Regions from separate parts of the Homo sapiens genome. Here region 1 is linked to region 2. Evidence: promoter capture Hi-C in 16 types of primary human blood cells and fetal thymus (Javierre and others, 2016). All regions are on one chromosome and are shown on one strand. Each heading gives the region's core, a stretch centred on a gene start or on the middle of the fragment in contact. The rest is flanking DNA. Distances are from core to core; before and after follow the strand shown.

Evidence for each region. Contacts are between HindIII fragments. The CHiCAGO score rates a contact against its expected background, and 5 or more counts as called.
Region 1: a contact is called between a fragment that was not itself captured here and the fragment with the promoter of ZRANB2 in region 2, in 1 of 17 cell types (total CD4 T cells). The highest score is 5.2, in total CD4 T cells.

What each region holds. Positions count from the first base shown.
Region 1 is chr1:68,489,472-68,494,958 of GRCh38, reverse strand. DEPDC1 (DEP domain containing 1) reads left to right here. Exons shown (of 12, transcript NM_001114120.3): 2 at 264-529; 3 at 5,351-5,487. Among named protein-coding and RNA genes, the nearest start is that of DEPDC1-AS1, 4.5 kb to the left of the region's middle. The HindIII fragment of the contact is 7,663 bases long and covers 1-5,487 here.
Region 2 is chr1:71,077,351-71,083,561 of GRCh38, reverse strand. It overlaps ZRANB2 (zinc finger RANBP2-type containing 2), which reads left to right and starts at 2,527. Exons shown (of 10, transcript NM_203350.3): 1 at 2,527-2,622; 2 at 4,854-4,906; 3 at 4,997-5,105. The coding sequence starts at 2,567. ZRANB2-DT (ZRANB2 divergent transcript) reads right to left here and starts at 2,238. Exons shown (of 4, transcript NR_046217.1): 1 at 2,149-2,238. RefSeq lists an enhancer at 2,288-2,577. The HindIII fragment of the contact is 3,322 bases long and covers 1-2,672 here.

The DNA of each region.
Region 1 (5,487 bases), core at 981-3,480, 2.6 Mb after region 2:
ATTGGTCAGGCTGGTCTCGAACTCCCGACCTCCGGTGATCCACCCGCATCGGCCTCCCAAAGTGCTGGGATTACAGGCATGAGCCACCGTGCCCGGCCAGATATAAAATTTTATATGGCACAAATAAGATGAATGATTCTTCAAGAATTTTTATGATATAATCAGATGTGAATTAAAGAATTTTCTTTACCTAATGTACTTCAAATCAATATGAGATTTAATTTTTCTTCAATTTTTTAAAAATATTTTCCTTCTTTTTACAGTGGAATGAAGTTACCACATCTTTTCGAGCAGGAATGCCTCTAAGAAAACACAGACAACACTTTAAAAAATATGGCAATTGTTTCACAGCAGGAGAAGCAGTGGATTGGCTTTATGACCTATTAAGAAATAATAGCAATTTTGGTCCTGAAGTTACAAGGCAACAGACTATCCAACTGTTGAGGAAATTTCTTAAGAATCATGTAATTGAAGATATCAAAGGGAGGTGGGGATCAGAAAATGTTGATGATAACAACCAGCTCTTCAGGTAATGAACAGATATGTAACTGTAAAACTGAATTACTGTAAAGTTTTATCTCTACTTATATTATACTTTTACTATAACAGCAGCTTCTTCAAAGAAGTTTTATTTCTTTGGAAAACTATTAATGCTGTTAGTTCAACTAAAATCATTTAGAAAAATTGTAATGTGAAAGTTAATTGCTACAAAATTTAAAGTTTTTAAGTGTTAGCATATATAATAAAGTAGGGAATTGGAAGGGAAATACTGATGTATTATCACTTCCGCATATTCTGAACACTTTATAACATTTTAAGGACATATTACTGACCTTTAGTTGCATAGTTTCTAGATTATAAGTTCACAGATCCTTCCCTTCAAACATATAATTTAATTTAAGAATACATGTAATAGGATAATAGCAAATCTTACATAATAAATAACAGACAAATAACAGGACCAGGTAAAGTGGCTCATGCCTGTAATCCCAGCACTTTGGGAGGCTGAGGTGGGCGGATCAACTTGAAGCTAGGAGTTTGAGACCAGCCTGGCTAACATGGTGAAACCCCGTCTCTACTAAAAATACAAAAAATGAGTTGGGTGTAGTAGCACACACCTGAGACTGAGGCACGAGAACTGCTTGAGCCTGGGAGGTGGAGGTTGCAGTGAGCTGAGATTGCACCACTGCACTCCAGCTTGGGCGACAGAGCAAGACTATCTCAAAAAATAACAATGATAACAGAAGAAATATACCACAGGTTAAAGAGAATATTTATTAAGCAGTTAAGATATAACAGAAACTCTGTTTGATGATTTACATATGTGTTCTTACTTAATTGCTATAGTAGCCAAGCAGGGTAGGTATTAACCCCTTTTAACAGATGGGGAAACTGAGACCATGCTTCAACAAATCTTGTTCTGTCTGCCTGAAATGTTTTTCCACCGTGAGACACTGTACACATTTGTCAGGCTAGTAAACTTATACATTTCTTTTAATCTCAGCTCCTTTATAGCCTCTTCTGTGGAGCTTTTCTGATTCCCACAGGTCAGCATAATTGCTTTTTCTCTTATGACCTACGGTTCTTTGTTATGTATCCATTAAACTAGGCCTGTGGAATCTAATGCCCATGCTTTTTTTTTCCTACAACATTAGGTACTTTTCAAATGAAATGTCTAAGAATTTATTGTTTCCTATGTACCAAAAATGATTTATGTCATACAAGTAAACTACAATAACAATCATATGAATAATCCATTTTGTATAGCACTCTACAAATCTTCCCTCTCTTAACTACTCCCCAGTTATCTTTGTGGGCTCCTTTACTGCTGCTCATCCTTTAACTCTCCCATCTTCAAGTTCCTGCCCTTGTCCTTACTTCACCTTCTCCCTAGGCAATCTCATGCCATGTCTTCGCCTACTTTTCTTAAGACTTTCAGGCCTCTCCTGAAATATCTTTCCTGAGCTTTCGGCCCATGTTTTTTCATCTGCCTCCTGGAAAGGCACTTCAAATAAACCATATAGAAAAATGACTATCACCCTCTAACCTAAGTTTTGTCTTCTTAGGTTTCCTATCTGAATAAATTGCATTGCCTTCCCTATAGTTGCCTTGATTCTTTCCCTTTCTTGTCCTTTAAATATGATTTAGTCTATTGTGCTCCCTAAGTAGTTCTCTGATCTGTACACATCTCTCTCCAAGATGAATCTTCTTTTTGTTAGGCTATAATTCTTACCTGGATTTCTCTTTATTTGTTTTGCTTTTGTTTTACCTGGATTTCTGCATAAATCCTCAACTAGTCTCTCTGCCCCTAGTCTTTTCTGCCTCCTGGGTTCAAGCTATCCTCCCACCTCAGCCTCCAAAGTAGTGGGGACTACAGGCACACACCACCACGCCCAGCTAATTTTTGAATTTTTTGTGGACACGGGGTTTCACTATGTTGCCCAGGCTGGTCTCAAACTCCTGAGCTCAAGGGATCCACCCACCTTGACCTTCCAAAGTGCTGGGATTACAGGCATGAGCCACCACGCCCGGCCTCTCCTAGTCTTTTACGATCGTAACAAAACTATAAAGTACATAAAAATAAAGTTTACCAAAAATGTGTAAGACCTTATTGGAGAAAAGTATTAAATTGTATTAAATAGAATAAATGGAGAAAGATACCCTGTTCATGAATGAAAATACTTAGTACATGTATATACAAGTCAATTCCTCCCAAATTGAAATAGAAATTCAGTGCATTTTCATTCAAAACTTCAATATAGTTTCTTTGTGGAACTTGATAAGCAGATTCTAAAATTCATTTGGTAAAAGTCTAAGAGAATTTTGAAGACCAAGGTCAAACTTCTGAGGTGTTCAAACTTTTGAGGTCACTACAAACTTTTTGAATAAATTTGATGTATGGGGCCAGGCAGAGTGGCTCACACCTGTAATCCCAGCACTTTTGGAGGCCAAGACAGGAGGATCACTTGAACCCAGGAGTTCGAGACCAGTCTGGATAACATAGGGAGACCCTGTCTCTACAAAAAAAAAAAAAAAAATTAATTAGCCAGGCATGGTGGCATATGCCTGTGGTCTCATCTACTTGGGAGGCCGAGCCCGGGAGGTTGAGACTGTAGTCAGCCGTGATCACACTACTGCACTCCATCCTGGGTGACAGAGTAAAACTTGGAGAAGAAAAAAAAATTGATATATGGTAAAAGATATGATAAAGTGAAAAAACACCAAACCACATATTGTTTATATACATTTATTAAAAGTATAAAAGCATGGAAAAGAAATACAACTATAGGTTTATTTTATGAAACTGTAAGTTTATATTTTACTCTCCCTTAGAGGGAGATATGAATGAGCAAAGAATTTCATTTTTTTTAAAAAAGGAGTTATTTACACTCCCACCAACAGTGTATAAACATTCCATTTTCTCCGCAACCTTGCCAGCACCTGTTATTTTTTTGTTTTTTAATAGTGTCCATTCTGACTGGTGTGAGATGGTATCTCATTATAGTTTTGATTTACATTTCTCCAATCAGTAATATTGAACTTTTTTCATATGCTTGTTGGCTGCATATATGTCTTCTTTTGAAAAGTGTCAGTTCATGTCCTTTGCCCCCTTTTTAATGGAGTTGCTTTTAAATTTAAGTTCCTTGTAAATGCTGGATACTAGACCTTTGTCAGATTCATAGTTTGCAAAAATTTTCTCCCATTCGATAGGTTGTCTGTTGACTCCATTGATAGTTTTCTTTTGCTGTGTAGCTCCTTCATGTAACTACAGTCCATTTGTCAATTTTTGCTTTTGTTGCAACTGCTTTTAGCATCTTCATCATGAAATCTTTGCCCATTCTAATGTCCAGAATGATATTGCCTAGGTTTTCTTCCAGGTTTTTTATAGTTTTGGGTTTTACACTTAACTCTTTAATCCATGTTGAGTTAATTTTTGTATATGGTGTAAGAAGGTGTCCCATTTCAATCTTCGGCATGTAACTTACCAGTTATCCCAGCACTATTTGTTAAATAGGAAATCATTTCCCCCATTGCTTGTTTTTGTCAGCTTTGCTGAAGATCAGTTGGTTGTAGGTGCATGGCCTTATTTCTGGGCTCTGTATTCTGTTTCATTAGTCTATGTGTTGGTTTTTATACCAGTACCATTTTGTTTTGGTTACTACAGGCCTGTAGTATAGTTTGAATTCTGGTAGCATGATGCCTCCAGCTTTGTTCTTTTTTCTTAGGATAGCCTTGGCTATTTGGGCTCTTTTTGGTTCCATATGAGTTGTGGACAACAGTATAATGATTCATTAAAATCCTAAAACCAAAACTACCATTTAACCTAACAATCCCTTTACTAGGTATATACCCTAAGGAATATAAATCATTCTGTCATGAAGACACATGTACACGTATGTTCATTGCAGCAGTATTCACAATAGCAAAGACAATGAGTCAACCTGAATGTCCCTCAGTGGTATACTGGATGAAGAAAATGTGTACATATACACCATGGAATAGTATGCAGCCATAAAAAAGAATGAGTTCATGTACTTTGCAGGAACATAGATGGAGGTGGAGGCAAACTAAGGAACAGAAAACTGAATATCACATGCTCTCACTTACAAGTGGGAGCTAACTGATGAGAACACATGGACACATAGAGGGGAACAATAGACACTGGGGCCTATTGGACAATGGAAGGTGTGAGGAGGGAGAGGTTCAGGAAAAATGACTAATGGGTACTAAATACTTGGGTGATGAAATAATCCGTACAACAAACCTCCACAACACAAGTTTACTTATGTAAGAAACCTGCACATGCACCCCTGAACTTAAAATAAAAGTTTAAAAAAATTAAAGGAGAAGTCTGGCAAAATGTCAACAATTACATTGGTTGCCAGTTACATACATGGGTATTGTTTTATTATATCTTTGAAGTATTTTATATTAAAATAAAAGGAGGCCAAAACATTACAATCAAAAGAAGCAATAGAAACTAAGTTCCAGAAATGAGGACAAACACAAACAAAAGAGGGAATATACAAACTAGATAACTCATCAAAGAAATTTAGAAAATGTAGCATTCTAGAGCCATTTTGTGTGTAAGCAATACCCCTCTACCAGAATTGACCCTAATAATAACCCTGAATTATCCAGAAATAAAGTTAAAATATACACAATATACTAAAGAAAAAAGGAACCTATTTTTTTTAAAGGTTTAATGGGAAAATTTATTTGTCTAGAATCTTTATTACTTGGTAGTATTAATAAGTCAGGCTCTTTATGTGAATTTTAAAAAAAAAATAGGCTCTAAAAGTTTGTTTCTAATCTCACATTATTTAATTGCTTATTGTTTTTAAACCAGATTTCCTGCAACTTCGCCACTTAAAACTCTACCACGAAGGTATCCAGAATTGAGAAAAAACAACATAGAGAACTTTTCCAAAGATAAAGATAGCATTTTTAAATTACGAAACTTATCTCGTAGAACTCCTAAAAGGC
Region 2 (6,211 bases), core at 1,278-3,777:
TTCTTTCTTTTTTTTAATTTCTCTCTCTCTCTCTCTCTCTCTCTCTCTCTCTGGGCATTGGCCCAAGAGTGAGGCCCTAGGCTTGGGTATCTACAATACTAACAGAAGCTCTGTTTTTATGGACAAAGGAAGTAGAAAAGGAGGCCTTTGTGGTCTGAAGAGTGTAGAGGGAATCCACATTTTTTCTCTCTCTTTTCTGTCACTGCTTTGTCTCAGAATCTGCCCTAGTCAGCTGCTATGCCAGGCTGCTAAAACTCCAAGAGGAACCTCATATTTCTGGTGAGAGGACCTTGCGAGACAAAAGGAGAAGAATGTAAGAGGAGAGAGCTAGAGAAGAGGATCCCCTAATTCTATGTATGAACCTATACAAGTTCTGTGTTCACACCTAAACTGAACACGTGCAGAACAAACACAAAATAGCATAGCAAAACTGAATTTCAATTTAAACTACTGCTAACATCCCCAAATAATCCCTGAGTATTGTAGGTATAGGACACAGCAAAGCCTTTGAAAACCCAGCTGACATGGAACCAGTACTCATAGAAGATGAGACCGAACTTTTGACCTGAACCAAATTGGATCGATTGCCTTCTAAAACAAAAAAAAATCAACATTCCCTAAAGGCTTTTAACAGGACTCAGTCTATGCAACATAATGTTCAAAATGTCCTAGATAAAATCCACAATTACACAGTATAAAAGAACTGGAAAAATGTGACCAACTTGCAAGGGAAAATATAATCAACACCTGCTAACTCCTAGATGACCAAAATGTTATAATACAGATTTTAAAGCAACAATCATAACTAGAGAGTAGTTGAACAATTTCTCTCCTAAACATAATCATACTTGCATAAAGACATTTCAGTCAATGATGAACCACATATACAAAGGTGGTCCCATAAGATTACAATACCATATTTTTACTGTACCTTTATATTTAGATACACAAATACCACTGCGTTACAACTGCCTACAGTATTTAGTACAATAAGATGTACTAAATGCAGGTTTGTAGTCTAGGAGCAATAGGCTATACCATATAGCCTAGGTGTGTAGTAGGCTATACCTGCTAGGCCTGTGTAAGCACATTCTATGATGTTCACACAACAGCACAATTGCCGAAAGTGGCATTTCTCAGAACATATCCCTATCATTAAGTGAGGCATGACTGTATATGCTGTATTCTAAAAAAAATTAATGCATTTATATACCAGAATCTATGCATAAGAATGCTCATACTGGTGTTGTTTGTAATACCAAGCCTGAGAAACAGAAGGAATAAACTGTCACAAAACCACAAAACGGAATAGTATCAGTATACATCAGTGCAAATAAAAGAATTACACCTATACACTTCTACATGCAACTACCTAGGATTAATTTAGAAGCATAATGAACAAAAAAAGAGTACAGAATCAACTATGCTTACACAGCTCATAAAATTAAACATACATGTATGTTAGGTTTTGAAGGGAAGGCAAGGATTAAAGAAAGAGAGGGTGGCTTAACAACAAATACAGGATTTATGTCCAGCATAAGACCTACAGAGGTGGGAGACCAGCTTAATGCCAGTGCCCGTTGCTTCTTACAGGCTGGGGTGATTTATAGGCCTGGGTGGGAGTGGTCTGGGGGGCCATGGCCTGCTTCCTGGGAACATGTTGATAAGGTGTTCCCAGGACGAGGCGGCTCTGGCCCTTGTTCCAGTGGAATGTGGTACTTTCTCCCAGCAGAGTATAAGAGGCAGCCTGTTTCTCACGCCCGAACCCCGTGGAATGTTTCACTTTGACTAAGGTCTGCAAAATGGCAGGGGGGCTTACAAAAATGGTGCAGTTTGGACTAACAACGTACATAAATTTTTAAAAAGCAAAAGAATAAATCCCAAATATGGGAAAGTGTTATCTGTGGAAGAAAGTAATGGGATGGTATCAGAAAAGACACTGGTAATTTAAACAGTGTTGACAATGTCTCAGTTTTAAAATTACCAGCTGGTTCCCATGTATAAGTTGCTTACTTATCTGTTACACCTATTTATGTATATATAAAAATAGGTTTCCAAACGACATCCCATGTGTATGAAATAACAGAATTTTTATGCCTTATTAAAATAATTTCTCTAAACACTTGAAGAGCCCGAGCCGCCTCTTACCCTAAACGAACCCCACGCCCCTGAATTGATCAGTCACTTCCGCCTCCACCTTTCCAGCTCCACCTAAGGAAGCGGAAGTACTTTACTCTTGGGTCCTCCCACCTGTAGGGGGCTCTCCGAGGCTTCTAGTGCCACGAAGGCCTCCTGCCTGGGTTGTCCTTATGGCGCCTGTGAGTTTAGTTCTAGAAAAGATATTTGTATTTTAACTTTTCCATCTAACAAACAGTAGCACAGGCATCTTAGTCTGGACAACAACGTACAAGCTGAATTCCTGGCTAGTTCCCTCATTATCAAACCCTGACACAGTAGTAGGCGCGAGTCAGGCAGTGTGGGGACAGCCCCGAGTTGCCGAAAGTCCCCGGCCCGTTTTCCTCCTGTGAAGACATAGCTGCGGGTGGCTGTGCTGGTGGCGTTCAAGATGTCGACCAAGAATTTCCGAGTCAGTGACGGGGACTGGATTTGCCCTGACAAAAAGTGAGTTCAAGAAGGGTCCTGAATTGGGACGGAGTTTGTTAGTGGAAGCTTTCCGAGGTCCGTCCGGCATTTTCCTTTTTTATGATTTTCTGTGCCTTAAGACGGGTTGAGGCGGCGAACCGCCAGTTCCCTGGCGGGAAGAAGGCTCCCAATCTCCTCACGAGAGAGGTCTTTCCGGGAGCCTTTGTTCTAGATATGTCTTCAGCGTTTCCTCGACATTACCTCCGCAAGGTAGCCTCTCTTTTTAGAGTGCGAGATGGCCTACCTTTTTGCCCCCACCCCCCTCCCCCGCCCCGGCCAGGTTTTAGCGATAGGAAACCTCTCCAGTCAGGCCAGCTTGGTGTTGGATCTCCCCCACGTGACTTTTCTCTGCAGAACTTTACTCTTGTTCACGGAAAATATTGCTTTCTCGCACTCGTCCTTTTGCCTCTTATAGTTCACCTTGTTTTGTATTTTTACTCAAACTTTTCCTCCATACTATTTTCCCCTTTTCCGGAAGCTCTACCCTCTTCGGTTTGGGAAATTCTGACATTTTCTTTGTGGATCATTTCTCCACAAGAATTGGGCTTTTCGCCTCCTTAGAGCCGAAAAGGAGGGAAGAGGCCTGTGTTTTTGCCTACTCAGCCCTTAAGATGCCTGCAGCAGAGAAGCACGTGTGTTAGTGGCTCTGCTTTTTGACATTGTTGCCAAAGCCAGTACTCGACTAGATAGTTAATCAGATTTTTTTTGAAGGGTGCACAAATAGGTGTATCTATTCGGAAATAACATGGAAAATAATTTAATGTACAACTCATGTTCACATAAAAGCCTTTTATTTGTTGTACCTAAGTTAGCCACAAATAGGTTTTGATTGTAAAAAGCAAAAACTTTGAAATAAACCTGGGTTTAGTTAAAATTCTATTACTTATTTAACTGCTAAAAAAGGAATAGAATTTTTTTTTTAATGAAAACATGAAATAACATGGATAGGGTGTGTAAACAGTGACGTGTAGCAAATTCTAATTGGTGGCTATTGATAGTAATTTGATATTAAGATGACCTGAAGGAGTAGTTCAAGCCTAACAAATGATACTGAATAGAACCAAAGTTATATGTTATGGATAGTATTGCTCTGAGTGGTAAGACATTATTGAAAACGTTCAAAAGATTTAGAACAACAACTTCTGACTTTGTTGTTACCTGTAAAATAATGTGCTTTTGTCAGTGTCTTTAATGACAGCACACCCAGAGGTAGGACTCTCAATGAGAGTTCATTTCAACTCATTTACAAATATATGAATAGAATGTTGTTTGTACAATATGTTTAAATGCAGGATAAATTTTCAGAGTATATTTTCCATGCTTAATGGAGTTAAAAGGAATATTTTTAGGGGAAAAACTTAACCTAAATATTATTTAGAGTGTTTCACTTTAGTGTCATCCCATACTTCACATCTGTATTGTATTCTAGTATAATGCCTTAAAAATCAGCTTTTTAAAGTTTAAGCATTCCATGTTATCCAGAGCATTTAACATACTTTTACCAATATACACGTACACTTCTAAGGTCATGTGAGTGAACCAGTAATTCTTTAGGTTTGAGTTTGTTGAGTATAAGCATAAAGTCTTACTGTACTACATGTGTTGAGATTATTGGTTTTGGTGGTTGTGTCATTTTTTTCAGCGAAGTCTCAGAGGTTTGAGAAATGCCCTGTAAAACTCAGTTTTCTTACAATTATTGAATCTTTTTGTATTTTTAGTCAGTACAACCTATCATATTTGGTTCCTTAGCATCCTACCTACTGCATGTAAAAAGATAATTTCATTAAGATCCATGAAGCCCTCCTTGATTTATAAGTTTTTTTCCTCATTGGTCCACCGCTAGGGTTTAAAACTCCCTGGTAGCTTGTAAGTAATTAGTGAAGTGGAGTTAACTCTCACTTTCAACTTTGTAAAGGGATTATAACTAATGATATGTGCTAATGTGAGGACTTGAGGCAGAGATCCTAAGTAACTTAATCAAGATCACATGACTGGTAAATGGAGGATTGGGATATCTTATTCTGAATTTGTGGCTCCAATCAAGTATTTTTCCCCCAGTAAATTGTGTGGAGTTTTTTGTTGGTAACATTGACATTAACATGACTAAGATGGATTAGAAGTTATGAATTCCAGATATGTAGTGAGGACAAGTTAAAATGTAAAATTTTACAAATTTAAATTTTTATAAATGCTTTTTAATCTGTTTTTAGATGTGGAAATGTAAACTTTGCTAGAAGAACCAGCTGTAATCGATGTGGTCGGGGTAAGTATTTAAAGAAGATTCTATTTATACTGTATATGTATCATTTATTTATTTCTCCAGGTTCATATTGCATGATTTTTCTGTTTTCAGAGAAAACAACTGAGGCCAAGATGATGAAAGCTGGGGGCACTGAAATAGGAAAGACACTTGCAGAAAAGAGCCGAGGCCTATTTAGTGCTAATGACTGGCAATGTAAAACGTATGTTTTTTAAATTATTGTCTGCTCTTTCTTCCAAAATAATAGATCTGGCCACTACTTGTTTATATTACAGCTCTTATTAGTGACATTGACAAGCCAGGGTAACCTTTTAAATCCAAGGTATTGTTATTCAGTCTCATCTTTAAGTATAGTATAAAGAAGTTTTAAATTATTCTTTGCATTTTTTAATGGTAATAGTTGTCACTATGATGGATTATGTATACCAGTAAACAAATGCTTATGGTAAGCTCAAAACCAATCGGGGGGTGGTGGTACTTAAAAGTACTAAGGCCTATTACTTCCTTTATTGAAAAATCCCAATTTTTAGACTGTATAGTTAGTGTGAAATACACCACAAAACTCATTTTGCCTGTTTACAAAATAATGTTAGATTCATAAGTTGTGTGCCGTAAGTAATTAAGTCTAATTATAGGTAGGTTTCTTAATGATTTTTATTTTCAGGCTTAGATTTAATTCTTCATTGATTTTTCCAACTTCCATCTTTTCTCTATGCAGATGAATCCTATGTGTATGAAAGAGGTCTAAATCAAAAAAGTATTAAATAAATTTCTCTTTTTGTTTGTTTGTATTTTTTGTTTTTGAGATGAGGTCCCACTCAGTCACCCAGGCTGGAGTGCAGTGGGGCGATCTCAGTTCACTGTAACCTCTACCTCCCAGGCTCAAGCAATCCTCTCACTTCAGCCTCCTTAGTAACTGGGACCACAGGCCCATGCCACCATGCCTGGCTCATTTTTTTATATTTTTGGTAGAGACAGGGTTTTACCATGTTGCCCAGGATGGCCTCGAACACCTGAGCTCAAGCATTCTGCCTGCCTTGGCCTCCCAAAGTGCTGGGATTACAGGCGAGGCATGGGCCACTATTCCTGACCCTAGAGTCTTAAATAAATTTCTGATCCTCAGGATTATAAATTTGTATTGGAAAAGTTTCCAGCTACAGATTTGGTCACTGGATTTGGTATGCTTTGGAATTCAGTGCTTGAACTGAGACCTCAAAAAAATAAATTAATATTATTTATAGGGTATAACCATACTCTTTAAGGTATATTCAGAGACTGAGAAATTAGTGGAGCTGTTAATTTAAAGTT